Linked DNA regions of Homo sapiens: all the other regions are linked to region 2. The links are contacts of gene promoters, found by promoter capture Hi-C in blood cells and fetal thymus (Javierre and others, 2016). All regions are on one chromosome and are shown on one strand. Each heading gives the region's core, a stretch centred on a gene start or on the middle of the fragment in contact. The rest is flanking DNA. Distances are from core to core; before and after follow the strand shown. Region 1 overlaps HDAC5 (histone deacetylase 5). Region 2 holds the start of SLC25A39 (solute carrier family 25 member 39). Region 3 holds the start of ASB16 (ankyrin repeat and SOCS box containing 16). Region 4 holds the start of HDAC5 (histone deacetylase 5). Region 5 holds the start of ASB16-AS1 (ASB16 antisense RNA 1).

Evidence for each region. The method cuts DNA at HindIII sites, captures the fragments that hold promoters and counts their contacts. A CHiCAGO score of 5 or more calls a contact.
Region 1: a fragment that was not itself captured here is called in contact with the fragment with the promoter of SLC25A39 in region 2 in 1 of 17 cell types (naive B cells); the score reaches 5.2 in naive B cells.
Region 3: the fragment with the promoter of ASB16 here is called in contact with the fragment with the promoter of SLC25A39 in region 2 in 11 of 17 cell types (total CD8 T cells, naive CD4 T cells, naive CD8 T cells and 8 more); the score reaches 9.3 in total CD8 T cells.
Region 4: a contact is called between the fragment with the promoter of HDAC5 here and the fragment with the promoter of SLC25A39 in region 2, in 10 of 17 cell types (total CD8 T cells, naive CD8 T cells, naive B cells and 7 more). The highest score is 9.6, in total CD8 T cells.
Region 5: the fragment with the promoter of ASB16-AS1 here is called in contact with the fragment with the promoter of SLC25A39 in region 2 in 8 of 17 cell types (total CD8 T cells, naive CD4 T cells, naive CD8 T cells and 5 more); the score reaches 9.2 in total CD8 T cells.

What each region holds. Positions count from the first base shown.
Region 1 is chr17:44,105,102-44,110,365 of GRCh38, reverse strand. The region is part of intron 3 of HDAC5 (histone deacetylase 5); the gene reads left to right. Among named protein-coding and RNA genes, the nearest start is that of HDAC5, 16 kb to the left of the region's middle. RefSeq lists an enhancer at 4,432-5,083. The HindIII fragment of the contact is 1,962 bases long and covers 1,814-3,775 here.
Region 2 is chr17:44,320,920-44,326,425 of GRCh38, reverse strand. SLC25A39 (solute carrier family 25 member 39) reads left to right here and starts at 1,603. Exons shown (of 12, transcript NM_001143780.3): 1 at 1,603-1,715; 2 at 2,849-2,948; 3 at 3,083-3,142; 4 at 3,574-3,618; 5 at 3,874-4,007; 6 at 4,659-4,726; 7 at 4,868-4,992; 8 at 5,195-5,368. The coding sequence starts at 2,864. LOC124904009 (a long non-coding RNA gene) reads right to left here and starts at 973. Exons shown (of 2, transcript XR_007065768.1): 1 at 805-973. RefSeq lists enhancers at 521-570, 1-680, 751-810, 861-940, 1,101-1,290 and silencers at 1,391-1,820, 1,841-2,060. The HindIII fragment of the contact is 4,927 bases long and covers 1-2,858 here.
Region 3 is chr17:44,168,767-44,174,322 of GRCh38, reverse strand. It overlaps ASB16 (ankyrin repeat and SOCS box containing 16), which reads right to left and starts at 3,619. Exons shown (of 5, transcript NM_080863.5): 1 at 3,233-3,619; 2 at 2,010-2,277. The coding sequence starts at 3,533. The HindIII fragment of the contact is 23,995 bases long and covers 1-5,556 here.
Region 4 is chr17:44,121,428-44,126,969 of GRCh38, reverse strand. It overlaps HDAC5 (histone deacetylase 5), which reads left to right and starts at 3,329. Exons shown (of 27, transcript NM_005474.5): 1 at 3,329-3,466. RefSeq lists enhancers at 1,322-1,821, 2,968-3,127 and silencers at 3,218-3,277, 3,348-3,447, 3,498-3,637. The HindIII fragment of the contact is 7,779 bases long and covers 1-4,909 here.
Region 5 is chr17:44,183,452-44,188,822 of GRCh38, reverse strand. ASB16-AS1 (ASB16 antisense RNA 1) reads left to right here and starts at 2,106. Exons shown (of 3, transcript NR_049730.1): 1 at 2,106-2,258. TMUB2 (transmembrane and ubiquitin like domain containing 2) reads right to left here and starts at 1,851. Exons shown (of 4, transcript NM_001076674.3): 1 at 1,714-1,851; 2 at 1,080-1,147. The coding sequence starts at 1,114. RefSeq lists an enhancer at 1,993-2,527. The HindIII fragment of the contact is 11,845 bases long and covers 1-5,371 here.

The sequences.
Region 1 (5,264 bases), core at 1,545-4,044, 220 kb after region 2:
CCAAGTTTGGGCAAGGGAAGAAGGTGTAGCTGGGTGTCCACAAGAATAAAGGTTACTCCAGCTCCTCTGGCTTGGTTCTTGGGGCTACAGGATCGAGTACAGTGACTTCCGCAAGTCCCCAGCCAGGAGTCTCTTGAGAATCAGACACTTGGGGAGGCTTGGTGCAGTCATGATGGAGTTAGGCAGAGGCTGGCAGCTTGGATATTGAGGGGCTTGGCTGCCTTAGCCCCTAGCTGTCTCCCGATGGCGCTCCTCTCCCCAGGTCTGGGTTGATTCCCATCTCATGAGGATGAAGAGGTGTTACTCTGGCTCAGATGGGCTTCGGGACCCCCTAATCCTGCCACCTTCTCAGCAGGAACTTTTTTGGCTCTTGGCTAGGGGTGGGGTCCCCCAGAGCTGGGCCGCTCCTTCCCTCACTCCCAGGAACCTGTTGGCAGCATCAAGCCTTCCTGGCACAGCCTCCCCACCAGGCCGGCACCACAAGATGCTTCCTCCAGGGAGGGGCCTGCTGGACCCATGCCTGCTCAGCCCCTCCTGGCAGTGGCTTGGCACTCAAGTGTGGGTGTCTGTGTGTGTGCGTGTGAATGGGGAGTCCTTGCCTCTGGATATGTGGGTGTGCATCCCAAGCTTCAAATTGGAAAGTGGGAACTGTGTGCCTCTGCAGGTGCCTGTGATTTGGCTCTGAGCTGCCCAGGGATAAGGTTGCAGTGGGACTTGGATGTGTCAGAGCATGAATGTTTTGGGAAGATTCAAAAAATCTTTGGAACATGGCTTATCATCTGCCCAGGCAGGGATGCCCATGCAGTTTTCTCATGTAGGAGCATGACCCTGAAGACTAGCCCTGCAGGGTATCCATGCAGGCCCCGAGGATAGGGGCATTACCCTGGGGCCAGCCCTGTAGGCTGGGGTGGGGATGGGGGTGTAACCTTGGGAACCGGCTCTACAAGATACCCACGTAGTCCCCTGAGGTAGGGGCGTATGCCTGGGGGCCCCCTACACAGGTCCCTGGGATGAGGAATAAACCCAGAGGGCTGGTTCTTATCCTGGTCTGGAGTCCACAGGTCCAGCTAAAGACCCTGCCTGCTGGCCCCTAGCCCACAGCCTCTGGGACTCAAGGTGGTCTCTTGGAAGGCAGAATAATCCCAGAGCATCTGCTTGGGACAGCTCCACGCCATCTGGCTTATCAGGTCCACCCATCCTGCCCTGTCGCCTCTGTTCCTTGCTACCAGCAGCAGCCAGCAGTTGGCCGGAAGTTTCCTCCTCAGCTTGTTCATTCACCTGCTTCCAGATTGTACCCCAGAAACCTTGCAGGCTGGGACCCTGCTCTCTCATCTCCTCCCTAAGCCTGGCTGCCCCTGCATGGACTCCCAGGCAGCCCCTCTGTCCAGATCCCTGTCTCCCCACTCCACCCCCAACGCTGGCTGGCCTTCAGAGTGGTGGCTTGGTCCATGCTGGCAGGAGGGAGGCGTGAGTCACCTCAGCGGCTCGGGGAGAGGGCTAAGAATGTTCCCCCTGCGCAGCTCTGATGCTGTGTCTGTGACGCGGCTAGGGACAGATATAGGCCTGGAGCTCGGCAGCCTTGTTTTTTTTTTGTTTTTTTTTTGTTTTTTTTTTGGACTCTGGAATGTAAATAGATGTTTCAAATAGAAACACTTTAACCTTTGGGTTAAAAAAAATCCACCCCGGATAAACACGGCCATGAGGGCCCAGGCAGCCTGGTGTTTCCCTCCCCACCCCCTCTCCCCATCTCTTGATCGGTCTCCAGACAGGATGCAAGATCCTATGGCTGAAAAAGCAGGTGTCCAGGGAAGCTTCTTTGGATGGTGTGAGTTGCGCAGGTCTCCCAAGCCCAAGGGGTTGGGGCAAGGGTCTTTCGAGGGTGGTGCCTGCCTGCCACCTCCAGCAGCATCTTTAGAACCCTATTTTAGGGATAGCCTTTGCTCTCTGGGCTGTCTTGGTTGTTGCCATTGCCCAGCACCTAGCACAGTGCCTGGCACATGGATGAATGAATGTCGCATGGGGAGGGCTGGAGTCCAGAATTGCTGGCAGGATTCCTGGGCTCTATTCTGGGGCCTGGACCTCTGGGTGAATAGAGACAGCTTTAGTGAGTCACCCCAGCGGGTAAGACAGAGCCTTAGCCTACCGAAGGACAGGGGCAGTCTGCTGTTCTTGCTTAAAGAGTGGGGCGGATCTCAGCATCTGCTCTTAGCGATCAGAGGTCTTCCTTGATGGATGGGGTCTCTGCCTGGCCACCCTACCACAGCTCCCCAGTGCACAGTGGGCACCACCATCATCCCAGCTTAGTTCTGGCTTGGGGAGCCTGGGAGTTTGAACTCTAGTATGGGATTCTCAAGGACACAGAGGTGGGGAATTCTCTGCCTCCCTTATGTGGGCCCTGGATTCCCCTTTGTCTTGTACTGGGTGGAGCTGATGCCCAGACAATACGCAGGACTTTATGAGATGGCATGGAGGAGGAGTCTGCTTTTCCCATGGAGGGAGGGTGTGAATCCTGCTTGTGCCAGGAAGGAATGCTATGGACACTGGGAAGTGCCATGGGGTCCAGGTTTGGTCTTAGGGCTTTCCCTGGATATTCGTGTTCGTGCTCTTCAGTCTTTCTGGGTTTGGCTGTGTGTATAGGTATGTAGTGCCGGGAGGGTAAGAAGTGCAAGACTCAGGGGTGAGAGTGGAACTATTATAATGCACTGAGTGACAAGGCTATCAGGTACTTTCCCTGCCCTTTTTTTTTTTTTTTTTTTTTGATACGGAGTCTCCCTCTTTTGCCCAGGCTGGAGTACAGTGGCACGATCTTGGGTCACCACAGCCTCCACCTCCTGGGTTCAAGCGATTCTCCTGCCTCAGCCTCCCGAGTAGCTGGGACTACAGGCACACGCCACCGTGCCTGGCTAATTTTTGTATTTTTAGTAGAGATGGGTTTTCACTATGTTGGCCAAGCTGGTCTCGAACTCCTGACCTCGTGATCCGCCTGCCTCAGCCTCCCCACAGTGTTGGGATTGCAGGCGTGAGCCACCACGCCCGGCCCTTGCCATATCTGTTTTAGGACAGTGTTGATAGCTGTGGTGTATAATTGAGAAGGCTCAGAGAGGTTAAGGAACTTACTGGACATGGTAGCTCATACCTGTAATCCCAGCACTTTGGAAGCCTGAGGGAGGAAGATCACTTCAGGCCAGGAGTTTGAGACCAGCCTGCGCAGCATAGCCAGACCCTGTCTCTACAAAAAAATGTAAAAAAAAAAATTAATCAGGCACAGTAGCATGCACCTGTAGTTCTAGCTACTCAGGAGGCTGAGGCAGGAGGATTGCTTGAGCCCAGGAGTTTGAGGCTGCAATGAGCCATGATCACTGCATTCCAGCCTGGGCGCTATAACAAGACCCTATCTCTTAAAAAAAGGGAACCTGCCCAAGGTCACAGAGTAAGTGAGAGCTGGAATTTGAACTCAGGTGTCTGGGTAGGACCATTGCTAATCCACATAAAAGCTACTTTTGGCCGGGCTCGGTGGCTCACACCTGGAATCCCAGCACTTTGGGAGGTTGGGAGTTTGAGACCAGCCTGACCAACATGGAGAAACCCCGTCTCTACTAAAAATACAAAAAATTAGCCGACGTGGTGCATGCCTGTAATCCTAGCTACTTGGGAGGCTGAGGCAGGAGAATCGCTTGAACCTGGGAGGCAGAGGTTGCGGTGAGTCGAGATTGCGCCATTGCACTCCAGCCTGGGCAACAAGAGCAAGACTTTGCCTCAAAAAAAAAAAAAAGCTTCTTTTGTGCAGATTTTTAAAAGGTGGCCCTCTTCTGGGTAGATACGTCCTCATGCCAGTGTGCATGGCCTGGCGATTGGAGCTTGGGCTAGATGTCAGCCCCAACTCACCCCTTTAGACGAGAGCCCATGTGCAATATGCCACCTACACAGCCTTAAGTGCTGGGCCTGTCAGTGCGCGTCCACAGTTTGTGCTCCTAGAGCACAGGAACCATTCTAGCCTTGGGGGCCTCCTGGGGTTGTGAGAGGAGGCTTTGTTTTCTGTAAATACTGAGGACCACTTGGTCTGTGATCTTTCTCCCTGAGGGGATTTTAGCCCAAGGAGAGGAGGGGCTCAGGAATAAAGTTGAACACCAGCCCCCATACAACCTCCTGTGTCCCCCTCCCCCTGCCTCATCCCCTCTTCTTGTTTTTGAGACCCTCAGCTGTCCCTTCCCTGCCACACAGCTGCCAGACAGGAAATCAGATTAACTGTGTCCATGCACACAGCTGTAACAGCTGTCAGGTTGGCAGGAGGCAGCCTGGGGACGCTGTGAGGCAGTGGTTCTCAAACTTTTGGTCGCATCAGAATTAACCAAGGGAGCGTATTAAAATGCAGATTCTCAGGCCTTGACACCCTGCCCCCCCAACAAAGGTTTGGATTCTGTAGGGCAGCCCAGGAACCAGTGATTTAAACTCATGTCTCAGGTGATTCTGATGCGAGTAGACTGAGCCCATCCTTGGAGTAAGAGCTGTGTGGACATGGGTCACAGGGCCCAGCAGTCAGCCAGTAGATGTCATCAGCATCCCTGGAAGGCCTTAGTGGGTCTTGGGACTCCTGGGAGAAGGGCCTATACAGGAGGAGGGAGGCTGTCGCCCTAGAAAGAGGTGAATCCAACTCCCAGCCGCCTGTCAGTCAGGAGAGAGGATGTTTCCAGCCGCCAGGGAGCAGGTGTCTAAACCCCAGTGGAATGGGGGATTATGGCAAGCAGCCAGGTGGGCAGGGTGCCCTGCTGGACACCCAGGGCTGTGCTGTGCTTAGGGAGTGGAGGCAGATCTGCTCTGGAGCCCCTGCCATTCCACCCCAGGTGTGGAGCAAACAGTCCTAGCAATAGCTGCAGACTTTGAATGGTTAGTGTGCCTTTTACTTGCCTGTAGCTTTGTACCCAGGTATATGCTAGAAATGGCTGGACTGGGAAATGTGAGTCTATTTCTCCAGAGAGCATCCCAGGATCGACTACTAACTCTATTTGCACCAGTGAGAGATGTTTTATGCCTTCCATCAGGGCTCTGCATCCCGAGCTTAAGGTCCTTCAGAGTCACAGTCTGCCTCAAGGTTTCTGGGGGTTCCCTGCACTTGATCCCATTCTCCCCTGCACCCCTGGGCTCAGATGTTCTGGGGACCAACCAGGTGCCCTTGTCTAGACCTCTGGATCCTTAATACAGAGTTTGGCCCCTTGTTGCATCTCTCATTCAGTTTGAGACCGGGCCTTAATGTTTCCCCTTCTGTT
Region 2 (5,506 bases), core at 354-2,853:
TCGAGTGGCTGGGATTACTGGCATGCGCCACCACGCCCGGCTAATTTTTTGTATTTTTAGTAGAGACGAGGTTTCACCATGTTGGTCAGGCTGCTCTCGAACTCCTGACCTCTGGTGATCCGCCCGCCTCGGCCTCCAAAAAGGCTGGGATTACAGGCGTAAGCCACTGCGCCCGGCCTTTTTTTTTGAGACGGAGTGTTACTCTGTTGCCCAGGCTGGAATGCAGTGGTGCGATCTCGGCTCACTGCAACCTCCGCCGGCCGGGTTCAAGCGATTCTCCTGCCTCAGCCTCCCGAGTAGCTGGGATTACAGGCGCCAGCCATCATGCCCGGCTACTTTTGTATTTTTAGTAGAGACGGGGTTTCACCATGTTGGCCAGGCTGGTCTCGAACTCCTGACTTCAAGTGATCCGCCCGCCTCGGCCTCCTAAAGTGCTGGATTACAGGCGTGAGCCACCGCGCCCGGCCTGTGGTAATCTATTTCAACAATAACCTACTGCAAAGAGTTTTGAGACTCAGAAGAAATCACGATACGAGAGCAACCAACACCAAAACGTCGATGCCCTCCCGCACTCAGTGCTCTTCCTCTCCGCGCAGAGTCATTCCGGGCCTTAGGCGAGGTTGTGATTTGCCCAAGGTCACGCGAAGGTGGGATCTGGCTCCCCATGGCTCTCCCGTCTCCCCCGGCTTGCTCACGTCCCAGCCCGCCCGGCCCGGGCTGCAGCTCAGCTAACCCAGTGGCGCACACCCGCGCGGGGCCCTGTGGTTTACAAAGCGTTTTGCAGTTGCAGGCCTGTCCTGTAACCTGAAAAATGGGGGCGATGCTAAGGCCGGCGAGAGAAGTCGCCGCGAAGTTTTCAAGTCTCGGCGGGTAGCCCGGCAAGTAACTTCGTCGTTATTGTGTGGTCTCCCGGCGATCTCGAAGAACTCATTCTCACTGCCGCCGCCACGCACCTGAGGACACCGAGGAAGAGGGCCAGTGCGTCACCCTCGCCGTCCAGAAGGCGCTGGGGTTTCCAGTGCCGCGCGCGGCCGGGGCGGGGCTGGTGAAAATGCGCTGTTAAGGCCGGCGCGGCGGCTCACGCCTGGAATCCCAGCACTTTCGAAGACCGAGGTGGGCGGATCGCTTGAGCCCAGGAGTTCCAGACTAGCCTGGGCAAAATAGGGAGACAAAAATAAAAGTAACAAACCAGCCGGGCGTGGCGGCGCGCGCCTGTGGTCCCAGCTACTCCGGAGGCTGAGGCAGGAGGATCGCTTGAACCCGGGAGGTCAAGGCTGCAGTGAGCCTAGATCGCGCCACTGCCCTCCAGCCTCGGCGACAGAGCGAGGCTGAAAAAGATGCTGTCTAAAAAAAGATGCTGGAAGTGCGTGCTGCTGCCACGTTAAGCGCGACGTGGAGACCGCGAAGTTGGCCGGCAGCTCTCAGCGCTGGACAGGCATGGAACTCGCCCGCGCGGCCCCGTCAAGGGGGCGGGACCGTCGCAGGTCCGGGCGGAGACGCGAGTGGGCGGAGCCGGGGACACTCCGGGCTTGCGGCTGGTCGGCCCGCGGCGGGCGGGGCCTCGTGGCGCGGTGTAGGGGCGGGGCCCCCTTGGCTGCTTTCGGCGTCGGCCTAGGTGCGCTGCGAGCGCGCGCGGACCGCGCACAGGCGGCGGAGCCGGTATGGGCCCGCCTGACCCTGGGCGCCGCGCCGCACGAGCACCAGCCTAGAGCCAGGTAGGCGGCACTGGGCCGGGGCTGGGGGCGGAGACGGAAGCGGGGGTCTCCGGGCGGCCGTGCGAGCCAGGGCAGGTGCTGGGGCCGTCGAGCTGGCGTGGTCCCCCTCACCTGGCGGCTCTCCGCCGTTCGGGGCCGGGAGTGTCGCCGAGGGTCGGGGAGACGTCCTGGTCCTACGTTCCTACTTCCCGCTCTCCCGGCTGCGCCCCGGGCCTGCATTTTGGGGCGGGAACCCAGAGACTGCTCTTTCTCTCCGGGCCCCGGGTCTGGCCCGTCCGGCCGGGCGGGGAGGGCCGGGCATCCCAGCCCGCAGTCCTGAGGAGGCGACGGGCCCTTCTTGGTCACCGGATCTGTTTACACGTCACCCTCGATGCCCGGCCGTCCCTCCACGCCCAGTAACTTGGGCTCTCAGGTGCCTGCCCGGGGCCTTGGTGCTGGAGTGGGGGCTGTGGGGGCAGCACAGGTACTCTGATTTTGGGGCCACGAGGGCCAAATCCGCGCCTGCACGTAGGAGGTGCGCAGTGGACACGTGCGAGGTGGACGAGGGAAGGACCCTGGCTCCTACTGCATTCGAGCGATAGGTCTGGCACCCTAGCTTCCTTCGGAACCACTCCTGAGTGACCTTGGGCAGGCCACCTCGTCTCCCCGAGCCTTAGTTTTCCCCGGCGGAGGGGGGCGGACAGTCCCTGCTTTAGAGGTCATTGCCAGGGTTGTTGAGGCAACAGATGTTTCGAGGGCGGTGGATGAGGGTTGGGTTAAAGTCTCACAGTGGGCCGGGTGCGGTGGCTCACGCCTGTAATCCCAGTGCTTTGGGAGGCTGAGGCGGGCGGATCACGAGGTCAGGAGATCGAGATCATCTTGGCCAACATGGTGAAACCCTGTCTCTACTAAAAATGCAAAAATTAACTAGGCGTGGTGGTGCGCGCCTGTAGTCCCAGCTACTTGGGAGGCTGAAGCAAGAGAACCGCTTGAACGGGGGTGGATGTTGCAGTGAGCCAAGATGGTGCCACTGCACTCCAGCCTGGCAACAGTGCGCAGAGCGAGACGCCGTCTCAAAACAAAAGTCTCACAGTGGCCCAGCCTCCTTTCCTGCCATCCCTGGAGTTGTGGTCTGTTTGAGGTTTGGTTTTCAGGACTGAAGCTTCAAGATGGCTGACCAGGACCCTGCGGGCATCAGCCCCCTCCAGCAAATGGTGGCCTCAGGCACCGGGGCTGTGGTTACCTCTCTCTTCAGTAAGACCTAGGGGAGGTGGGGTGGGGGCGGGTGGGGATGGGGCAGACCGGAGATTGGAGGCTGTGTGGTCCTGGGGGAGGAGTCCTAGGGGTGGGGTCCTGAAAGGAGCCTTCAGACCCGCTTCCTCCCCCAGTGACACCCCTGGACGTGGTGAAGGTTCGCCTGCAGTCTCAGCGGCCCTCCATGGCCAGCGGTGAGTACCTGACCTGGAACTAGTGAGGGGTGGTGCCTGGGCAAAAGAAAGATCTCCCAGAGGCTGGCCGTGGTTTCTCATACCTGTAATCCCAGCGCTTTGGGAGGCTGAGGTGGGTGGATCACCTGAGATCAGGAGTTCAAGGCCAGCCTGGCCAACGTGGTGAAACTCTCTCACTACTAAAACTACAAAAATTAGCCGGGCTTGGTGGCATGCGCCTGTAGTCCCAGCTACCTGGGAGGCTGAGGCAGGAGAATCGCTTGAACCGGGAAGGTGGAGGTTGCAGTGAGCTGAGATTGTGCCACTATGCTCCAGGGTGGGCGACAGAGCAAGACTCCATCTCAAAAAATAAAATAAAAAGATCTCCCAGAGATGGGGTCCCTAGGGCGGGTGGGGGCTCTCCTGACTTGAGGGGCTGCCTTGTATTTTAGAGCTGATGCCTTCCTCCAGACTGTGGAGCCTCTCCTATACCAAATGTGAGTGCCCCAAGCCACAGGGAGCATGGGAGGGTGCAAGGGGGAGACAGTCCTTGTCCCTGTCCCCAGGGCACCAGTGGGCTCCACAGCCATGGACTAGCATATACTCCCAGGTCCTGCCAGCCAGTCCTGTGACCTGCACCAGAACATCCACACAGGGACCTGGCCTTTACTGGCCTTCCAGGGATAGGGGCCCACTGCCTCCCTGCAAGGTTCTAGGATCCTGTCATTATAATGCCCCCTGCCTTTCCCCAGTGCCCTCCTCTCTCCAATCCACAGGGAAGTGCCTCCTGTATTGCAATGGTGTCCTGGAGCCTCTGTACCTGTGCCCAAATGGTGCCCGCTGTGCCACCTGGTTTCAAGACCCTACCCGCTTCACTGGCACCATGGTGAGGAGCAGCTGGGTCCGTAGGGATTCGTCGGTGTCCGTGAGGAGTTCGGTCTGGCTGGGCAGCAGACCCAGGAGTAAAGGGATTGGGCAAGGCACGCAGAGGTAGCCGGTTCCGTCAGGAAGTGCTTCCGGAGAAGGCAGTACCTCCATGGGGTGTTTGTTTTCTTTTAGACAGAGTCTCGCTCTGTCACCCAGGCTGGAGTGCGGTGGTGTGATCTCAGCTCACTGCAACCTCTGTCTCCTGGGTTCAAGTGGTTCTCCTGTCTCAGCCTCCGAAGTAGCTGGGATTACAAGCGTGCACCACCACCTGCCGCTAATTTTTGTATTTTTAGTAGAGACAGGGTTTTGCCGTGTTGGCCAGGCTGGTCTCGAACTCCTGCCTCAAGTGATTTATCCGCCTTGGCCTCCCAAAGTGCTGGCTGGGATTACATATGTGAGCCACCGTGCCTGGCCTCCATAAGGTTTTTGAAGGGTGACCAGGTGTCCGCCTGGACCCAGCTGCTGGGGTACTGCATGTGTAGAGGCAGGGAGGCCTGAGGGCTGTGGGCAGAGGCTGAGGGCGTCAGGCAAAGGCCTAGCCTGGGCCAGCCCCATCACAGACATCACTTGTGTCCCTCCTCTTCCCCTGGGCTGGTGCCTGCTTGGCCAGGATGCCTTCGTGAAGATCGTGAGGCACGAGGGCACCAGGACCCTCTGGAGCGGCCTCCCCGCCACCCTGTGAGTAGCCGGGTCCTGCACCACTCTCCTCTGGTACTTCCTGACCCTTTGCTCCCTGTTGAATGGCTAGGTGGGGCAGGTGATGCTTTAAAAGTTTGGGTCCTTTTGGGAGTCCCAGCTAACCTCTCTCTGTATCCCCAGGGTGATGACTGTGCCAGCTACCGCCATCTACTTCACTGCCTATGACCAACTGAAGGCCTTCCTGTGTGGTCGAGCCCTGACCTCTGACCTCTACGCACCCATGGTGGCTGGCGCGCTGGCCCGCCGTGAGCATAGTCTTGGGCCTTTGACCTCCCTCTGTCCCCACCTCGGCCCAAACCCAGTCAGTCCCAGCTCCCAGCCCCAACCTCTGCCAGCCTAGGGATAGGGGGGTGTTCTAGGTCCCCAGACCTGGGACAGCAGGTAGGTGATGCCATGTAAGACCTGTGATCTCACTTCTCCCCATTGTCACCCCCAATCCCCACACAGTGGGCACCGTGACTGTGATCAGCCCCCTGGAGCTTATGCGGACAAAGCTGCAGGCTCAGCATGTGTCGTACCGGGAGCTGGGTGCCTGTGTTCGAACTGCAGTGGCTCAGGGTGGCTGGCGCTCACTGTGGCTGGGCTGGGGCCCCACTGCCCTTCGAGATGTGCCCTTCTCAGGTAGGCACCCAAGCTGCAGGGGGTGGGTGAGGGAACCCTGGGGTGATGCACAAAGGGTCTACAGCCAAGTCCCAGCTTTGTGACTAGTGACCATGAAGTTACTTAGCTTTTCTGAGCCATGGGTTTCTCATCTGTGAA
Region 3 (5,556 bases), core at 2,370-4,869, 150 kb after region 2:
CTGTAATCCCAGCACTTTGGGAGGCCGAGGCGGGTGGATCACGAGGTCAGGAGATCAAGACCATCCTGGCTAACACAGTGAAACCCCATCTCTACTAAAAATACAGAAAAAAAAAATTAGCCGGGCGTGTTGGCGGGAGCCTGTAGTCCCAGTTACTCGGGAGGCTCAGGCAGGAGAATGGCGGGAACCCGGGAGGCGGAGCTTGCAGTGAGCCGAGATCGGGCCACTACACTCCAGCCTGGGAGACAGAGCAAGACTCCGTCTCAAAAAAAAAAAAAAAAAAAATAGCCAGGTGTGGTAGCACTGGCCTGTGATTCCGGCTACCCTGGAAGCTGAGGCAGGAGGATCACTTGAGCCCAGGAGATCGAGGCTGCAAGTGAGTCATGATTGTGCCACTGCACTCCAGCCTGGGCAACAGAGTGAGACCCTGTCTCCAAAAAAAAAATCTAGCCCTGTGTTTCCTAACATCGGTGTGAGGCACCCCCATACCTCTCTTCCCACTTTTTTTTAAGACAGGGTCCCGCCCTGTTGTCCAGGTTGGAGTACAGTGGCAGCATGATCATAGCTCACTGAAGCCTAGACCTCTTGGGCTCAAATGCTTTTCCTGAGTAGCTGGGACTACAATGCACACCACCATGCCCGGCTAATTTTATTTTTTGTAGAGACAGGGTCTCACTATGTTTCCCAGTCTGGTCTTGAACTTCTGAGCTCAAAAGATCATCCTGCCTCAGCCTCCCGAGTAGCTAGGACTAGAGGCTCATGCCACCATACCCGGCTAGTTTTTATTTTTAGTAGAGACAAAAACCTCACTTACGTTGCCCAAACTATTCTCAAACTCCTGGACTCAAGCAATCCTCCTGCCTCCGCCTCCAAAAGTGTTGGGATTACAGGTGTGAGCCACTGAATCTGGCCCATAGGTCTTTTTTTTTTTGAGATGGAGTCTCAACTGTTGCAGGGGCTAGTGTGTAGTGGCACAATCTCGGTTCACTGCAACCTCTGCATCCCGGGTTCAAGCGATTCTCCTGCCTCAGCCTCCCGAGTAGCTAGGATTACAGGCGCCAGCCACCATGCCCAGCCTGGCTAATTTTTTGTATTTTTAATAGAGACGGGGTTTCACTATGTTGGCCAGGCTGGTCTTGAACTCCTGAACTCGTGATCCACCCGCCTCAGCCTCCCAAAGTGCTGGGATTACAGGCGTGAGCCATGGCGCCCGGCTTTTTTTTTTTTTTTTTTTTTTTTAAGACAGTCTCGCTGGAGTGCAGTGGCAGAATCTCGGCTCACTGCAACCTCTGCCTCCCGGGTTCAAGCGATTCTTGTGCCTCGACCTACTAGTAGCTGGAATTACAGGTGTGAGCCACCACACCTGGCCAGATCTTTCTTAATACCTCAAAACAACTAGGAATTTGGGCTGGGCATGGTGGCTCACGCCTGTAATCCCAGCACTTTGGGAGGCCAAGGTGGGTGGATCACTTGAGGACAGGAGTTCAAGACCAGCCTGGCCAACATGGCAAAACCCCATCTCCACTAGAAATGCAAAACCTAGCCAGGTGTGGTGGCACACACCTGTAATTCCAGCTACTTGGGAGGCTGAGGCATTTGAACCCAGGAGGCAGAGGTTGCAGTGAGCTGAGACCACGCCACTGCACTACAGCCTGGGCAACAGAGCAAGACTTCGTCTCAAAAAACAAAAAAAAACAGCTAGGTTTGGCTACAAAGGATTCACAGGGTATTGGAGACTGCAGTTGGAACAGAGTTTTCCCAAAAAGCAACAGGGCTTCTGCCTCCTGGGCTTAGCAGATGTGACCTTGGACAAGTTACTAAGCCTTTCTGAGCTTCATTTTTCTCATCTGTAGGATGAGGTGTCTCCAGGTTATTGTGAAGATGTGTATATGCGGTGCTTTATGAACCACAAAGCTGCATGTGGTTGTCAGGTTCCCTCTTCTGGCCTTGTGAGCTGGAGACACACACACACATTTCTCCCCAAACTGTCTCAGCCCCCAGGCACCTACTGCAAGGACTCGGGGATCGTGCAGAGGTGCAAAGGAGTCGTGCCCTCCTCAGTCAGCACATTAGCCTTGGCTCCGAAGGTCAGCAGCAGCCGCACACAGTCAAACTGGGCTCGGGCACAGGCCTCATGCAAGGCAGCGCGACCCCCGACACGGGCATCCAGCTCAGCTCCCTGCCGGATCAGGTGTCGAGCACAGTCTGTGTAGCCTCGGGCTGTAGCGATGGCGAGGGGTGCCGTCTGCTTGGTCTTGGGGGTCAGCACCCAGAACCCTAGGGAGAGCAAATAGTTTTGGGAGGTGGTGTATAAGACAGGGCAGGGCAGGGAGTGGGGATGCTGGTTCCAGCTGACAGCTGACACTGGCCTTCCCTCTGCATGGTTTGCTGAGCACAAACACTGCCAGGCTGTACCTGTGGAAGGGGGCTTATTCAAGTCCTGAAGTGGAAGAATAAATTGGAACAGCCTTTTAATACAGCTTATCAATCTGTAACAAAACATAGTATGTGTCATAAAAAAATTAATTGCTGTATAAAACCACAGGGGCCAACTAAGTAGAGTGACTCCCATTAAGGAAATCTCAGCGTCTTTGAATGGCTAATAGTGTCAAAGGCTTGTTCACCTTGGGGCCTGGGGTGGTGGCTCACACCTGTAATCCTAGCACTTTGGGAGGCCAAGGCGGGATGATCACTTGACCTCAGGAGTTCGAGATGAGCCTGGGCAACATAGTGAGACCTTGTCTCTTTTTTTTTTTTTTTTAGGCAGGGTCTCGCTCTGTCCCCCAGGCTGGAATGCAGTGGCGCTATCTTGGCTCACTGCAAGCTCCGCCTCCCGGGTTTAAGTGATTCTTCTGCCTCAGCTGCTGAGTAGCTGGGATTACAGGTGCGCACCACCATGCCCGGCTAATTTTTCTATTTTTAGTAGAGATGGGGTTTTACCATGTTGGTCAGGCTGGTCTCAAACTTCTGACTTCGTGATCCGCCTGCCTTGGCCTCCCAAAGTGCTGGGATTACAGGCGTGAGCCACTGTGCCCGGTCAACTTTTAATTCTTAAAAGACATACAGACTGCTAACCCTGCCTCATCTCTGTTTAGGAGGGAGCTAGGATAGGTGGTGGAAAGGGCTGCTATAGTCTGTGGTCTGCAGGGAAGGAGGGGCCTAGACTCTCCCCCTTCCCCACCCACTCCCCTTCTTTCTCCCTCCTCTTCTGCCCTCTTCTGGTGCCCCCTACCCTGTTCAGCCGACCAGGCCAGCTGGTTGCTCACAGTCTCCACAATCATGTTGGCGGCCTCTTCATCTTGGAACAGGGCTTGGACCTGCTGCAGGTTGCCGGAGAAGAGGGCTTGGTGGACAGCTGGGTCTCGGCAGGAACGGTGAGGCCTAGTGAGTCGGGCCCGGGGACTTGACGGGCACCTGCGGCTCCGGCACTGCTGGGCAGCCGCCCGCCGCCGGTCCTCCCATTCCAGCCACTCCTGCTGCAGGCGGAGAGAGCGCAGCATGGAGGAGGTGAAGGGGAAGGTCTCTCTTGCCATGGATGGGGCCCAGGGGTTTGGGCAGTGGCACCTGGGCAGAGCCAGGTTCCCTCGACCCGACTACCTCCCTTGCTCTGAGGAGCCACCCTGCCCCCGCCACCGTGAGCCAGAGAAAGCAGCAGCTGAGGCTATAAATAGGTCCTTTGCTGCTCTGGTAAACATGGTTTGCTCAGAGTCATGATCCTGGTGCTGAGAAGCTGCTGGCCCAACCCCCAGCCCAGGGTGAGGGCCAGCCCCTGCCCCTGCCGATACCCTTTGGTTGGTCAGCAGGCCCTCAGCTGAGGCCACCCCCGAACCCCAGCATCTGCATCCACCTTCATCTCTAGAGCGAGCATCTTGGGTTGGCAAGGTCCAGGGTGCGCAAAAAGGTCAGTCATGGAGATGGGCAGGGCTGGGAGGAAGACAAGGTGCCTCCAGCCTCTCTGATGTTGGCTGGAGGGCAGGAGCCACCATTGGCCCACGTGGAGGAGAGAGGGCTGACCTCAGCACAGGAGGTAAGGGGAGGTCAAGGCAGAGTTACTGAGAAGGTGAGCAGCTCTTCCCAGCATCTGCAGTAACAGCAATAACTCTGTACATATGCACAGAGTTTCACGGTGTTTAAATCACATTCATATCCACCTTCACCCAGGGGATCATACTTCCCAGCCCACCCAATAATTAGTAAACTTGGTTTGGACAATAAATGAAATTATCACAGTTGAATGCCCCTGAGATGGGTGGTCTTATCTCTGTTTTACAGATGAGGAATTTAAGGCTTAACAAAGTAATCTACTGGCTCAAGGTCACAGTTTGTGAGAGGCAGAGCCAGGACCCCACATAGATGGTGTGCTTTGGGCCAAGAATGGTGGCTCATGCCTGTAATCCTAGCACTTTGGGAGGCCAAGACAGGAGGATTGCTTGAGCCTAGGAGTTTGAGACAATCCTGGGCAACACAGTGAGACCTATATCTTTTTTTTTTTTTTTTTTTTTTTTGAGACAGAGTCTCACCCTGTCTCCCATGCTGGAGTGCAATGGCACGATCTTGGCTCACTGCAACCTCCGCCTCCCGGGCTCAAACGATTCTCTTGCCTCAGCCTCCTGAGTAGCTGGGATTATAGGCACCCGCCACCATGCCCAGCTAAATTTTGTATTTTTAGTAGAGATTTAATTTAGGGTTTCACCATGTTGGCCAGGCTGGTCTCGAACTCCTGACCTCGTGGTCTGCCCGCCTCGGCCTCCCAAAGTGCTAGGATTATAGGCGTGAGCCACCACCCCCTGCCTCTCCATCTCTTAAAAAAAGAAGAAAAAAAAAAAAAGATGGTACACTTTTTGCCTTCAGCTGCTGCAGCCACCTGGCAGCCTCCCCCATTCTCCAAGCAGGACAGACTAGTCTGTAGAAACTGCCTTCAATCATCCTTTTTTTTTTTTTCTCATGGTGTCACCCAGTCTGGAGTGCAGTGGGGTGATCTCGGCTCACTGAAACCTCCGTTTCCTGGGGTTCAAGTGATTCTCCTGCCTTAGCTGCCTGAGTAGCTGGGATTATAGGTGCATGCCACCATGCCCAGCTGATTTTTGTATTTTTATTTATTATTATTTTTTTTTTGAGATGGAGTCTCGCTCTGTCACCCAGGCTGGAGTGCAGTGGCGCGACCTCGGCTCACTGCAAGCTCCGCCTCCCGGGTTCACGCCATTCTCCTGCCTCAGCCTCCCGAGTAGCTGGGACCACAGGCGCCTGCCACCACACCTGGCTAATTTTTTGTATTTTTAGTAGAGACAAGGTTTCGCCGTATTAGCCAAGAATAGGATGGTTTCGATCTCCTGACCTCGTGATCCGCCCGCCTCGGCCTCCCAAAGTGCTGGGATCACAGGCGTGAGCCACCGCGCCCGGCCGATTTTTGTATTTTTAGTAGTCGGTTTCGCCATGTTGGCCAGGCTGGTCTGAAACTCCTGACTTCAGGCGATCTGCCCGCCTCGGCCCCCCAAAGTGTTGGTATTACAGGCGTGAGCCACAGCTCCCAGCACCTTCAATCATCCTTGATTTATT
Region 4 (5,542 bases), core at 2,080-4,579, 200 kb after region 2:
TTTTTTAGACTGAGTCTCTCTCTGTCACCAGGCTGGAGTGCAGTGGTGTGATCTCAGCTCACTGCAACCTCCACCTCCTGGGTTCAAGCGATTCTCCTGCCTCAGCCTCCCGAGTAGCTGGGACTACAAGGCATGTGCCACCACGCCCAGCTAATTTTTTGTATTTTTAGTACAGATGGGGTTTCACCCTATTAGCCAGGGTGGTCTCGATCTCCTGACCTTGTGATCCGCCCGCCTCGGCCTCCCAAAGTGTTGGGATTACAGGCATGAGCCACCGCGCCCAGTCCTCCTTTTTTTTTTTTTTTTTAGAGATGGGGTCTCCATATGTAGCCCAGGCTGGGCTTGAACTCCTGAGGTCAATGAATCCTCCCTTTTCAGCCTCCCAAGTAGGTAGGACTACAGGTGTGTGCCACCATTCCACCATGTCTGGTTAGGCTTTTTTTTTTTTTGAGACAGGATCTCACTTTGTCACCCAGGCTGGGTGCAGTGGTGTGTTCTTAGTTAGCTCACCTCTCCGGCTCAAGCTATCCTCTCACCTCAGCCCCCCAGCGTGAGCACAGGTCTGGCCCTTGGCCAGGCTTTTTGATATACACATATACTCAGGCATATGAATCTAGTTTGTTGTTTTTATAATAATGGAACAATTCAGTAATACTTGTTTGAGTCCTGATTTTCAAGAAAACAATATATCACGGGCATCTTTTCAGGTCGGTATAGACCTATAAAATTTTTTTTCTTCTTTTTTATTTTTTATTTATTTATTTATTTTTTGAGACGGAGTCTGGCTCTGTCGCCCAGGCTGGAGTGCAGTGGTGCTATCGCAGCTCACTGCAACCTCTGCCTCCCAGGTTCACGCCATTCTCCTGCCTCAGCCTCCCGAGTAGCTGGGACTACAGGGGTCCGCCACCACGCCCGGCTAATTTTTTTTGTATTTTTAGTAGAGACGGGGTTTCACCATGTTAGCCAGGATGGTCTCGATCTCCTGACCTTGTGATCCGCCCACCTCGACCTCCCAAAGTGCTGGGATTACAGGCGTGAGCCACCGCGCCCAGCCTATTTTTATTTTTTTTTTTGAGACGGAATCTCGCTCTGTCACCCGCCCAGGCTGGAGTGCAATAGCCCGATCTCGGCTCGCTGCAACCTCCGCCTCTCGGTTTCAAGTGATTGTTTCGTCTCAGCCTCCTGAGAAGCTGGGATTACAGAAGTGCACCACCACGCCCGCCTAATTTTTGAATTTTTAGTAAAGACGGGGTTTCACCATTTTGGTCAGGCTCGTCTCGAACTCCAGACCTCGTGATCCGCCCGCCTCGGCCTCCCAAAGTGCTGGGATTACAGGCATGAGCCACTGCGCCCGGCTATTTTTTTATTTTTTTTGAGACGGAGTCTCACACTGTTGCCCAGGCTGGAGTGCAGTGGCGTGATCTCGGCTCACTGCAACCTCTGCCTCCAGGGTTCACGCCATTCTCCTGCCTCAGCCTCCCGAGTAGCTGGGACTACAGGCGCCCGCCACTACACCCGGCTAATTTTTTTTTGTATTTTTAGTAGAGAGGGTTTCGCCGTGTTAGCCTGGATGGTCTCGATCTCCTGACCTTGTGATCAGCCCGCCTCGCCCTCCCAAAGTGCTGGGATTACAGGCGTGAGCCACCGCGCCTGGCCTCTTCTTCTTCTTTTGTTTTTGTTTTTTGTTTTTTTGAGACGGAGTCTCGCTTTGTTCCCCAAGCTGGAGTGCAGTGGCGCGATCTCTGCTCACTGCAACCTCCGCCTCCCGGGTTCACTCCATTCTCCTGCCTCAGCCTCCCAAGTAGCTGGGACTACAGGCGCCCACCACCACGCCCGGCTAATTTTTTGTATTTTTAGTAGAGACGGGTTTCACTGTGTTAGCCAGGGTGGTCTCGACATCCTGACCTCGTGATCCACCAGCCTCGACCTCCCAAAGTGCTGGGATTACGGGCGTGAGCCACCATGCCCGGCCCACGCCCGGCCTCTTTTTTAAAATACAGACAGTGTCTCGCCATGTTACCCAGGCTGGTCTTGAACTGGGCTCAAGCAATCCTCCCGCCTCGGCCTCCAAAGTGCTAGGATTGATGACAGGCAAGAGCCAATGCACCTGGCCCCTTTAAAACTTTTTTTTTTGAGGCAGAGTTTCACTCTTGTTGCCCAGGCTGGAGTGCAATGGCACGATCTTGGCTCACTGCAACCTCCGCCTCTCAGGTTCAAGGGATTCTACTGCCTCAGCCTCCTGAGTAGGTGGGATTACAGGCGCCTGCCACCACGCCCGGCTAATTTTTTTGTATTTTTAGTAGAGACGGGGTTTTACCATAATGGCCAGGCTGGTCTCAAACTCTTGACCTCAGGTTATCCGCCTGCCTCCGCCTCCCAAAGTGCGGGGATTACAGGCGTGAGCCACCATGCCCGGTCCCCTATAAAACTTTTAATGTCTGGATAATATTTTACTGAATGAATGTCTCCTGCTTTGCTTGCCAATTCCCTATCGATGGATATTTAGGTTGTTTTCAACTTTTCACATCATTACAAACAATCTCATGTTCATTTTTTAACATAACAACGTTTATTTATTTGGAATACATTTTTGTTAGTGGAATTGCTGGGTCATTGACAAATTGTCTAGGTCTAATTAAACATGTTCATACTGTGTACCAAGAGGAGATGTAGCGTGGATGGCACCAAAGTCAGGGAAGTCTTTCCGGCTCCTGGTCTGCTGGTCTGCCCTTTTGAAGGCCTTGGAGTGTTACAGCCATACCCTGGCCTTTCCCAGGCTTTTCTTTCCCTGGCACGGATGCAGTGTGTGCGGTCAGAGCTGGCGAGTTCGAGACTTGTCCGAACCATCCACCCGCAGCCAGGCCCCGCTGCAGAGGCTGCGGTGGCCCTCCCAGCCCCTGGGAATCTATCCCCAGGTCCCCTCCCCGACCGCGGGAGGGCGTGTTAGGGGAGCAGCTTAGGCAAGCGACGATTGCACCATCCACGTTTTGAAAAGAAAGTCCGGGGAGCGCAAGGAGGAAACTTTTACAATCCAAAGGTTGAGCCCCAGCATCCATACTCGGCCCCTGCAGCGATCCTTCCACTCCTGCTCGCTGGGTTCCGATCCCTTCCCTTCCACCCCGTCTCGGCCGAACCCTGTGCTGGGCACTGGCCCTTTAAGGAGCTGTCACGATGGCGTCGCTGGCCCCGCCCGGCGGGGAGGGCCGAGAGGCAGGGGAGGGGTTGGTGGTGGCTGCGGGCAAGGGGAAGGCGGGGGGGGCTGGGGGGGGGGTCTGGGTCTATTTTTAGCTCCGGGTCGGGTCACGTGACGGGAGTGACGTCTCCGAATGTTGTTGTTGGTGGCGGCGGCGAGCGGAGCCGGAGGAGCCGCCGCAAAGATGGAGGAGCCGTCGAGGAGGTGCTGCCGCCGCTGCCGCCGCCGCTGCTGCCGCCGCCGCCCGCGAAGCCGGAGCTCGAGCCGCAGCGGGTGAGCGCGCCGCCCCGGCCCAGATCCCATCTTCCCCGGACCCCGGGACGCGAGGCGGCGCCCCCTCCTCCTGCTGTCTCTGTCCGCGGGCTCCCAGCGCGCGCGCCGCGCTCCGCGCCCCCCTTCCTTCCTCCCGGCCCTGGGAGCCAGCCGGCGCCCCCCGGGAGCATCGGCAGCCCGTGAGCGGGACATCGGGGTTGCTGCGCGCGCCCCTCCCTGCCCCTCCCAGACAGGGGCGCCTTCCCTACAGGTAAGGGAGGGGCCCGCCTTCTCGCGCCCTGCGCCCCCAAATGGCTCGGAGACCGGCCGGGGTTGTCTGATTTGCCCCTTCCCTGGCGGCGCATGTTGCGTTGCAGAGCCATTTGAGCCCTGCACCCGGATTCTGTGCAGACCCCTCTTCGCTGGACACCCCTTTCTTGGTACTCTGAGGTGAGGGGTGCTGTCCACCCAGAGCGCTTCTCCCCATAGCTACGAACGCATCCTTGATTTTATGTCCTTGACTTCCGTGCATGAGGAGGGGGACTGCGGAGTCCACCTTACTTCTCTCTCCCATTATTCTCACCCCGTCTCCTGTGAGGCGTTACTGCGTTTGTTGCCACCCTCTTCTCCTGTCTGACACCTTGGAGCCAGGATGCGAGAGCTAGGAGATGAAATGGAGCTCCCCCCCAACCCCTTCTTGTCTTGGGTGGATGCCCCCCATTTTTCATCCTGGATCTGTATCTCATGGAAGCGGGGGCACTACCAGTGCCTTATTAACTTGGGGGGAGTCAGCTTCTCCACCCCACCCTTCCCTGGGGCCCTGGGGAAGATGAGAACTGGCTGGGTGTAAGTAATTAATCTGGGAGCTTGGTGGGGGCTGTTGAAGTGGGGAGGTTGGGTGCTTCCTTTGGGAGAGGAGATGACCACTTGATACCCCTGGCTGATACCCCTTCTGAAATGAGGTGTGTCCCTAAAGAGGAAAGGTAACAGCTGCAGTTGCTTTTAGGAGGGTGCAAAAGGGACCCATCACTCAGTCAGTGACCACCATGCTTTTGGGATCTGGGATTAGATTTGGAGCTTGGGGAGGTGGTGGTGATTGGTTTCAGTGTCCAACTGGGAGGGGAGGATGGAGCCAGATTATGGGAACAAAAGGAGGTGGGGGGGAGGGTGAGATCCAGGAGTCTTGGTCAGAGGGACCCCTAGCCAGATTGCCTTGCAGGATTGCAGTCTGGGTCTGGGTCCTGCCTTTGGCTTCCTCTTAGTTTCAGAGGATGTAGGCAGGCAGGCATGGTCTTCAGTCTCCCCAGTCCTAGGCACCCTGAGCCTATGCTGGCTGTTGAGATGCTGGGCTGGGCTGGGCTGGGCTAGGCTGGCTGGGCTGGATGGTGGATGAGCCATGTTGGGGGCTGCCTGCTTCTTCATTCCAGTCTTCCCTCCTTCCTCTCCCTCCCTAAACACAAAGCTTGGGGAGATCTTGGTTTGTCTCCTTCCTCTTTTCTTGACTCCTCTCTTTGCCCTCTCTTCACTTGAACTTGGATCTGGGCTTTCTTGACAAAGCAGTAGGGGTCTCTCTGAGTTAGAGAAATGGGCCCCCAGTATCTCCACTCTGTCCTGGGAATGTGGGCATGCCAGAGACCAGAGAGACAGATCTCAAGTGTGGGTTACTTGGGGGCAAGGATGGAGGAAATGTTAGTTCTGTGCCAGCCTCCCCTTCTTTTCCAATATATCCTCCTACTTTGGCTGGATCATGTAATTTGGAGGGGGGCAGCAGTTTCACATGCCCCACCCACCCCAAGTAGCTGCAGAGACAAAGGTTTGCTTTGCCTTCCGTAGGGGTGGCATCTTAATTGTGTGTTTAGAAATGGGGCCTGGGAATGTTGGGCGGGGGTCATTTGTGTTCCCGCATAGTGGGGGAGGGGGCATCAGCTATAGGAGCTGGGGGTAGTGCAGTCGGTGCTGAAGTACCAGCTGCTCTTTAATAATTAATTCTTCCTACTCACATCCCTTTGAGGAGGGATGTCTGGAACACAGCATTAGGCTCAGCCAGCCTGCTAGAGGACGCACTCCTGTTGGTGGCAGTAGGGGGGGGAAGGGGGA
Region 5 (5,371 bases), core at 857-3,356, 140 kb after region 2:
GAAACTCTTGCTTTCACGTTCTGTGACCTTCCTCTCTCAAACTCCAACTTCCCAATGAGTGTGGATCAGCAGGAAAAGCCCACAGCCTTGCTGCTGCTGCTACTGTTGTTGCTTTTTTGGTGAATGAGGAAAAATCTTTGCTGAGGCCTGAGTTTCTCTAGGATTTCTATCGCTTGGTCAAGCAAATATGCCTCCTAAGCAGCCTCCAAAGTGGCTTCAGAGAGACCCAAAAGCCTGGAATATTTTACTGTGGGGCCCCCCTGGAAGCACTGTTTAGCCATCCCTGCCAGATTGTCTCATTTGAGCCTATTTCATTCCTGGTCACAGATCCAGGCTGCCAGATGTCAAGAGCCAAAGAAAACTGACCTACCATCAAAAGCAGAGTCAGACAAATCTAAAACGATAACTCTGTAGGGACCGCGGGCAGATACTATGCAGCAGACATTATGTGCCGCCTCTGAAACTTCTGGCAAGCCCTGGGGAGCAACTTGGGACAGACACCAGAAGCACCACCTTCCTGGGTCACCATGGGCCCACTCCTGCAATGACCACTCCCCAAGTGGAGTGATTTGAAAAAGATTCCATAACAGCTCTCACAATCCATATCTCAGTCTCTCTTCTTTCACTGTGAAGGTTCTGCTGCTGCAGTTTCTTAGAAAGGCAGGAAGGGTCCCTGCTTGCTCCTTGGAGTACCTACTATTTCCCTTGGAGAATCTGCTGCTTTCACAGCTGTCCCTGGGCAAATCCAGTCTGGTGATTACCATTATCAGACTATTCTCACAGCACCTATAAAACTTCATTATACTTATGTACCTGTCCATCTTTCTATTAGACTCCTGGTAGACAAGGATCGTATGTATTTCTCTTGGTACTGAAGTGTCCAATATAATGCCCCAGTAGTTGCTCAAAGAATTATCTGTGGAACACATCAACATCCTTATTTAATATACCGGCCCTGGAGTTAGAAAAACAACTAATTATAACCCCAGTCTTGCGTCTTACTAGCTATAACACCTCAGACAACTTTCTCAGAGCCTCAGCTTTCTCATCAGTAAAATGGGGTTAAAAACAGTACCTACCTCATGAGGTTGTTTTGAAGATGACGTGAAATCATCGAAGCAAAATACTTGGCACAGTGCCTGGCACACTGCAAATTGCAATTGCTTAATAACGGTAGTAATTATTTATCACAACCACAACTAACCCCTGATGGTAAGAAGGTTAATGTTATTAACCATGATTTACAGGAAAAGAAACTGCGGCAAAGAAAGACGAAAACGATTGGCACAGACACAGGGAACTCTCGTGGGGAGGGGCCCGGCAGGACCCCAGGTGTCCGGCCTCAGGGGTCTTTGCTCTGTCCCTCAGCCTGTGATCTACCCTGTCCGTACCGTGACCGCACGGTGAGGAGGGGTCCCGCACCCTTTTTCTGAGGCGAAGGTTCCGCTTTTGGATGGTCCTATTCCCTCGGCGTTGGACTGGGGTCCATGGGCCCACCCGAACCGAAGGGCTGCCTGGCCCCAGCCTCCGTGATAAGACCAGTTGTCCCGGCCAGTGAGGAGTAGGGTCGGCTAAGGGGGTCACAAACCGTCCACACCCCTCAAACTTCGGGGCGGGGCTGGGGAACTGGGGGCGGGGCTTCAGGACGCGAGGAGTCATGGGAAATTAAAGGGGGATTGGACCGGCACTGTGCCTGGATGGGGAAGTCCTCACCTGAAAAGACCAGACTAAATGTTTTGACCTCGCCAGGACGGCCCCTGGACTCGTCTTTCCGTAGGGGTCGGGAAAAGGGCTGGCAATCTGCGATTCTGTTCAGGGTCCGGTCTCTTCCGGCTTCTCCCGGAAGCTGTTATACCAGGGACAGGAAGTCCCGCCTCCGCGCCTTGCACTGATGACGCGAAGCTGCGTAAGACGGGCTGACGTAAAAGGTATTCTTTAAATAAAAGGGACAGGTTTCTCAGCGGAAGGAGGGGTGGAGTCATTGTTGGCGGGATTGCGGCCCTCCCAGAGCGGGGCCACGCCTGGTGGGCGGGGCCTTAGGCAATCCAGGGTGAGAGGCGGGGCCAGGGGGGAGGAGTTAGCGCGGAGGTACTTGGGAAAGGGGCGTGGCTTCGCGACTGCGGAAGGTTGCCCGGGCTGGCGCCGCTGGGCAGAGCCGGTGCGACGTTTCCCTTTCCAGCTTTGTTCTTCCGGCCCTGCTGTCTGCCTCCCCGGCTGATTGGATTCGTTACTGCTTTGCAACGCGCACCTAACTCCAGGTTAGCGGGGATTAGTAAGAACTCAGCTCTGGGCCAGTCGGGAAGACAGATAAGGAGACCAGTTAGTCAGCATCCAGTGCTTGAAGAGTGCGGCCCCAGGTAGTGTGGGACCCGGAGAAAGAAGGCGGGAAAGCATTTCAAAGAAGGCACAGATTCGGCGCAGGCTTAGGACACAAAAAGGGGGAAAAGTCCAGCTTTCAAGAACTTATCCAGATTTTTGCAGTTAAAATTTTTTCTTTTTTGAGACGGGAGTTCCGCTCTTGTTGCCCAGGCTGGAGTGCAATGGCGCGATCTCGGCTCACTGCAACCTCCGCCCCCCCGGGTTCAAGCGATTCTTTTGCCTCAGCCTGCCGAGTAGCTGGGATTACAGGCATGCGCCACCACGCCCCGCTAATTTTGTATTTTAGTAGAGACAGGGTTTCTCCATGTTGGTCAGGCTGGTCTCGAACTCCCGACCTCAGGTGATCCGCCCCCGTCTCGGCCTCCCAAAGTGCTGGCATTACAGGCGTGAGCTACCGCGCTCGGCCGCAATTAAAATTTTTTCTAAAAACTTACTGTGGCCGGGGGGAGTGGCTTACTCTTGTAATCCCACCGCTTTGGGAGGCAGAGGTGGGAGGATCGCTTGAGCTCAGGAGTTCGAGGCTGCAGTGAGCTATGATCTGAGCCACTGCATTGCACCCGACAGGGAGGCCTTGTCTCCAAAAAAAAAAAAAAAAGCGCTGGAGTTTGGGGTTTTGGAGAACTACTGATTAAAGGATAAATAATCCAGACAGGGGCAAACATAAGCAAAAAGCTCGGTGGCTTCTACCAACTGAACACTGGCAGAAGTAGCACTTAGATCAAGAAATAGATAATTAGGACTGGCGCGGTGGCTCACGCCTGTAATCCCAACACGTTAGGAGGCTAAGGCAGGCGGATCACAAGGTCAGGAGTTCAAGACCAGCCTGGGTAACATGGTGAAATCCCGTCTCTACTAAAAATACAAAAATTAGCCGGGCGTGGTGGCGCACGCCTGTAATCCTGGCTACTCAGAAGGCTGAGGCAGGAGAATGGCTTGAACCTGGGAGGCGGAGGTTGCAGTGAGCTGAGATGGAGCCACTGCACGCCAGCTGGGGTGACAGAGCGAGACTCTGTCTCAGGAAAAAAAAAAAAAAGAAAGAATTACCCCAGAATCTCCCCCTTCATGTCTTCTTCTAGCCATTAACCTCCAAAGAGTAATCACTATTCTGACGTCTGTCACCATACATTAGTTTTTCCTGTTTTTGTACTTGCTATAAATGGAATCCAACTGTGTATCCTCTTCGGTGTCTAGCTTCTTTTTTGTAAGTCCTTTCATTGTGGTAAAATAAACATAGCTAGGCACAGTGGCATGCACCTGTAGTCCCAGCTACTCTGAAGGCTGACTCAGCAGTGTCACTTGAGCCCAGGAGTTAAAGGCCAGCCTGGGCAACACAGGGAGACCTCTATCTCTAAAGATAAATATATACATATACGTAACATAAAACTTAAAACCATTTTAACTATTTTTAAGTTTGCAATTCAGTGGCATTAAGTACATTCACAAAGCCGGGCACAGTGGCTCATACTTGTAATCCCAGCACTTTGGGAGGCTGAGGCAGGAGGATCCCTTGAGCCAGGAGTTCAAGACCAGCCTGGGCAATATGGTGAGACCCCCATCTCTAAAAAAAAATTAATTAGCTGGGCATGGTGGCGTGTGCCTGTGGTCCCAGCTACTCAGGAGGCTGAAGTGGGATGATTGACCCTAGGAGGTTAAGGCTGCAGTGAGCCATGAGCCAGCTACTCAGGAGGCTGAGGTGGGATGATTGCTTGACCCTAGGGTCAAGATTGCAGAGAGCTGTGATCGCGCCACTATGCTCCAACCTGGGAGACAGAGTGAGACTCCGTCTCAAAATAAAAAAAAATGTAAAGGAAAATAATTGTCTTCAGCTGAGCATGGTGGCTCTAGAGTGTAATTGCAGCACTTGGGGAGGCTAAGGTGGGAGGATCACTTGAGTCCAGGAGTTTGAAACCAGCATGGGCAACATTGCGAGACCCTGTCGCTACAAAAAATTTAAAAATTAGCCAGGCCTGGCGGTGTGTGCCTGTAGTCCCAGCTACTTGGGAGGCTGAGGTGGGAGAATCATTGGAGCCTAGGAGGTCAAGGCTACAGTGAGCTGTGATTGCGTCACTGCACTCCAGCCTGGCATACAGAAAGACCCCGTTTCAATCAATCAATAAAAACCACTCTGGGAGATCTTCCCAAGGCAGTACACATGCTGGTCACTTGGAATCCCTCCCTAGTTCTTTCCTGCCATGGGTAATATGGATTTGTCTAACCACTCCAACATGAGTTGTTGCAAGCAACGCTGAGAGGAATATTCCTGTATGTAGCCTGCCTTTTGTGTAACTGGGAACAGTGTTTAAGGAAGTGGCCAAATTGCCCCCAAAGAGGCGATTTGTCCACCAACAGGATTTGCACACCTGGCCTTGTATCCTGATTTTTTTTTTTTTTTTTTTGGAGACGAGTTTTGCTGTCACCCAGGCTGGAGTGCAGTGGGAGATCTCAGCTCACTGCAACTTCCGCCTCCCAGGTTCAAGTGATTCTCCTGCCTCAACCTACTGAATAGCTGGGAGTATATGTGTGTGCCACCACACCTGGCTAATTTTTGTATTTTTAGTAGGGAAGGGTTTCACCATGTTGGCCAGGCTGGTCTCGAACTCCTGGCCTCAGGTGATCTGCCTGCCTCGGCCTCCGAAAGTGCTGGGATTATAGGCGTGAGCTATCGCGCCTGGCCTACTTTTTGTATTTTTAGTAGAGAAAGGGTTTCACAATGTCAGCCAGGCTGGTCTTGAACTCCTGACCTCAGGCGATCCACCCGCCTCGGCCTCCCCAAGTGCTGGGATTACAGGCGTAAGCCACTGCACCCAGGTATTTTTCTTTTTTAACGGTATCTTTTGTAGTTGTAAATATATCAGAAAAGGCTGAGCTGGCTGTGGTCGGCGTGCTGTAAAGGGGTAGAAAGTTCAGCATTGCCCCTGAGAGTGAGGCTCCCAGCCTCCCTCTCTAGGGAGGAGTTCTTTTTCTTCTGTCAGGCCTTTTGGCTCTGTAAAAC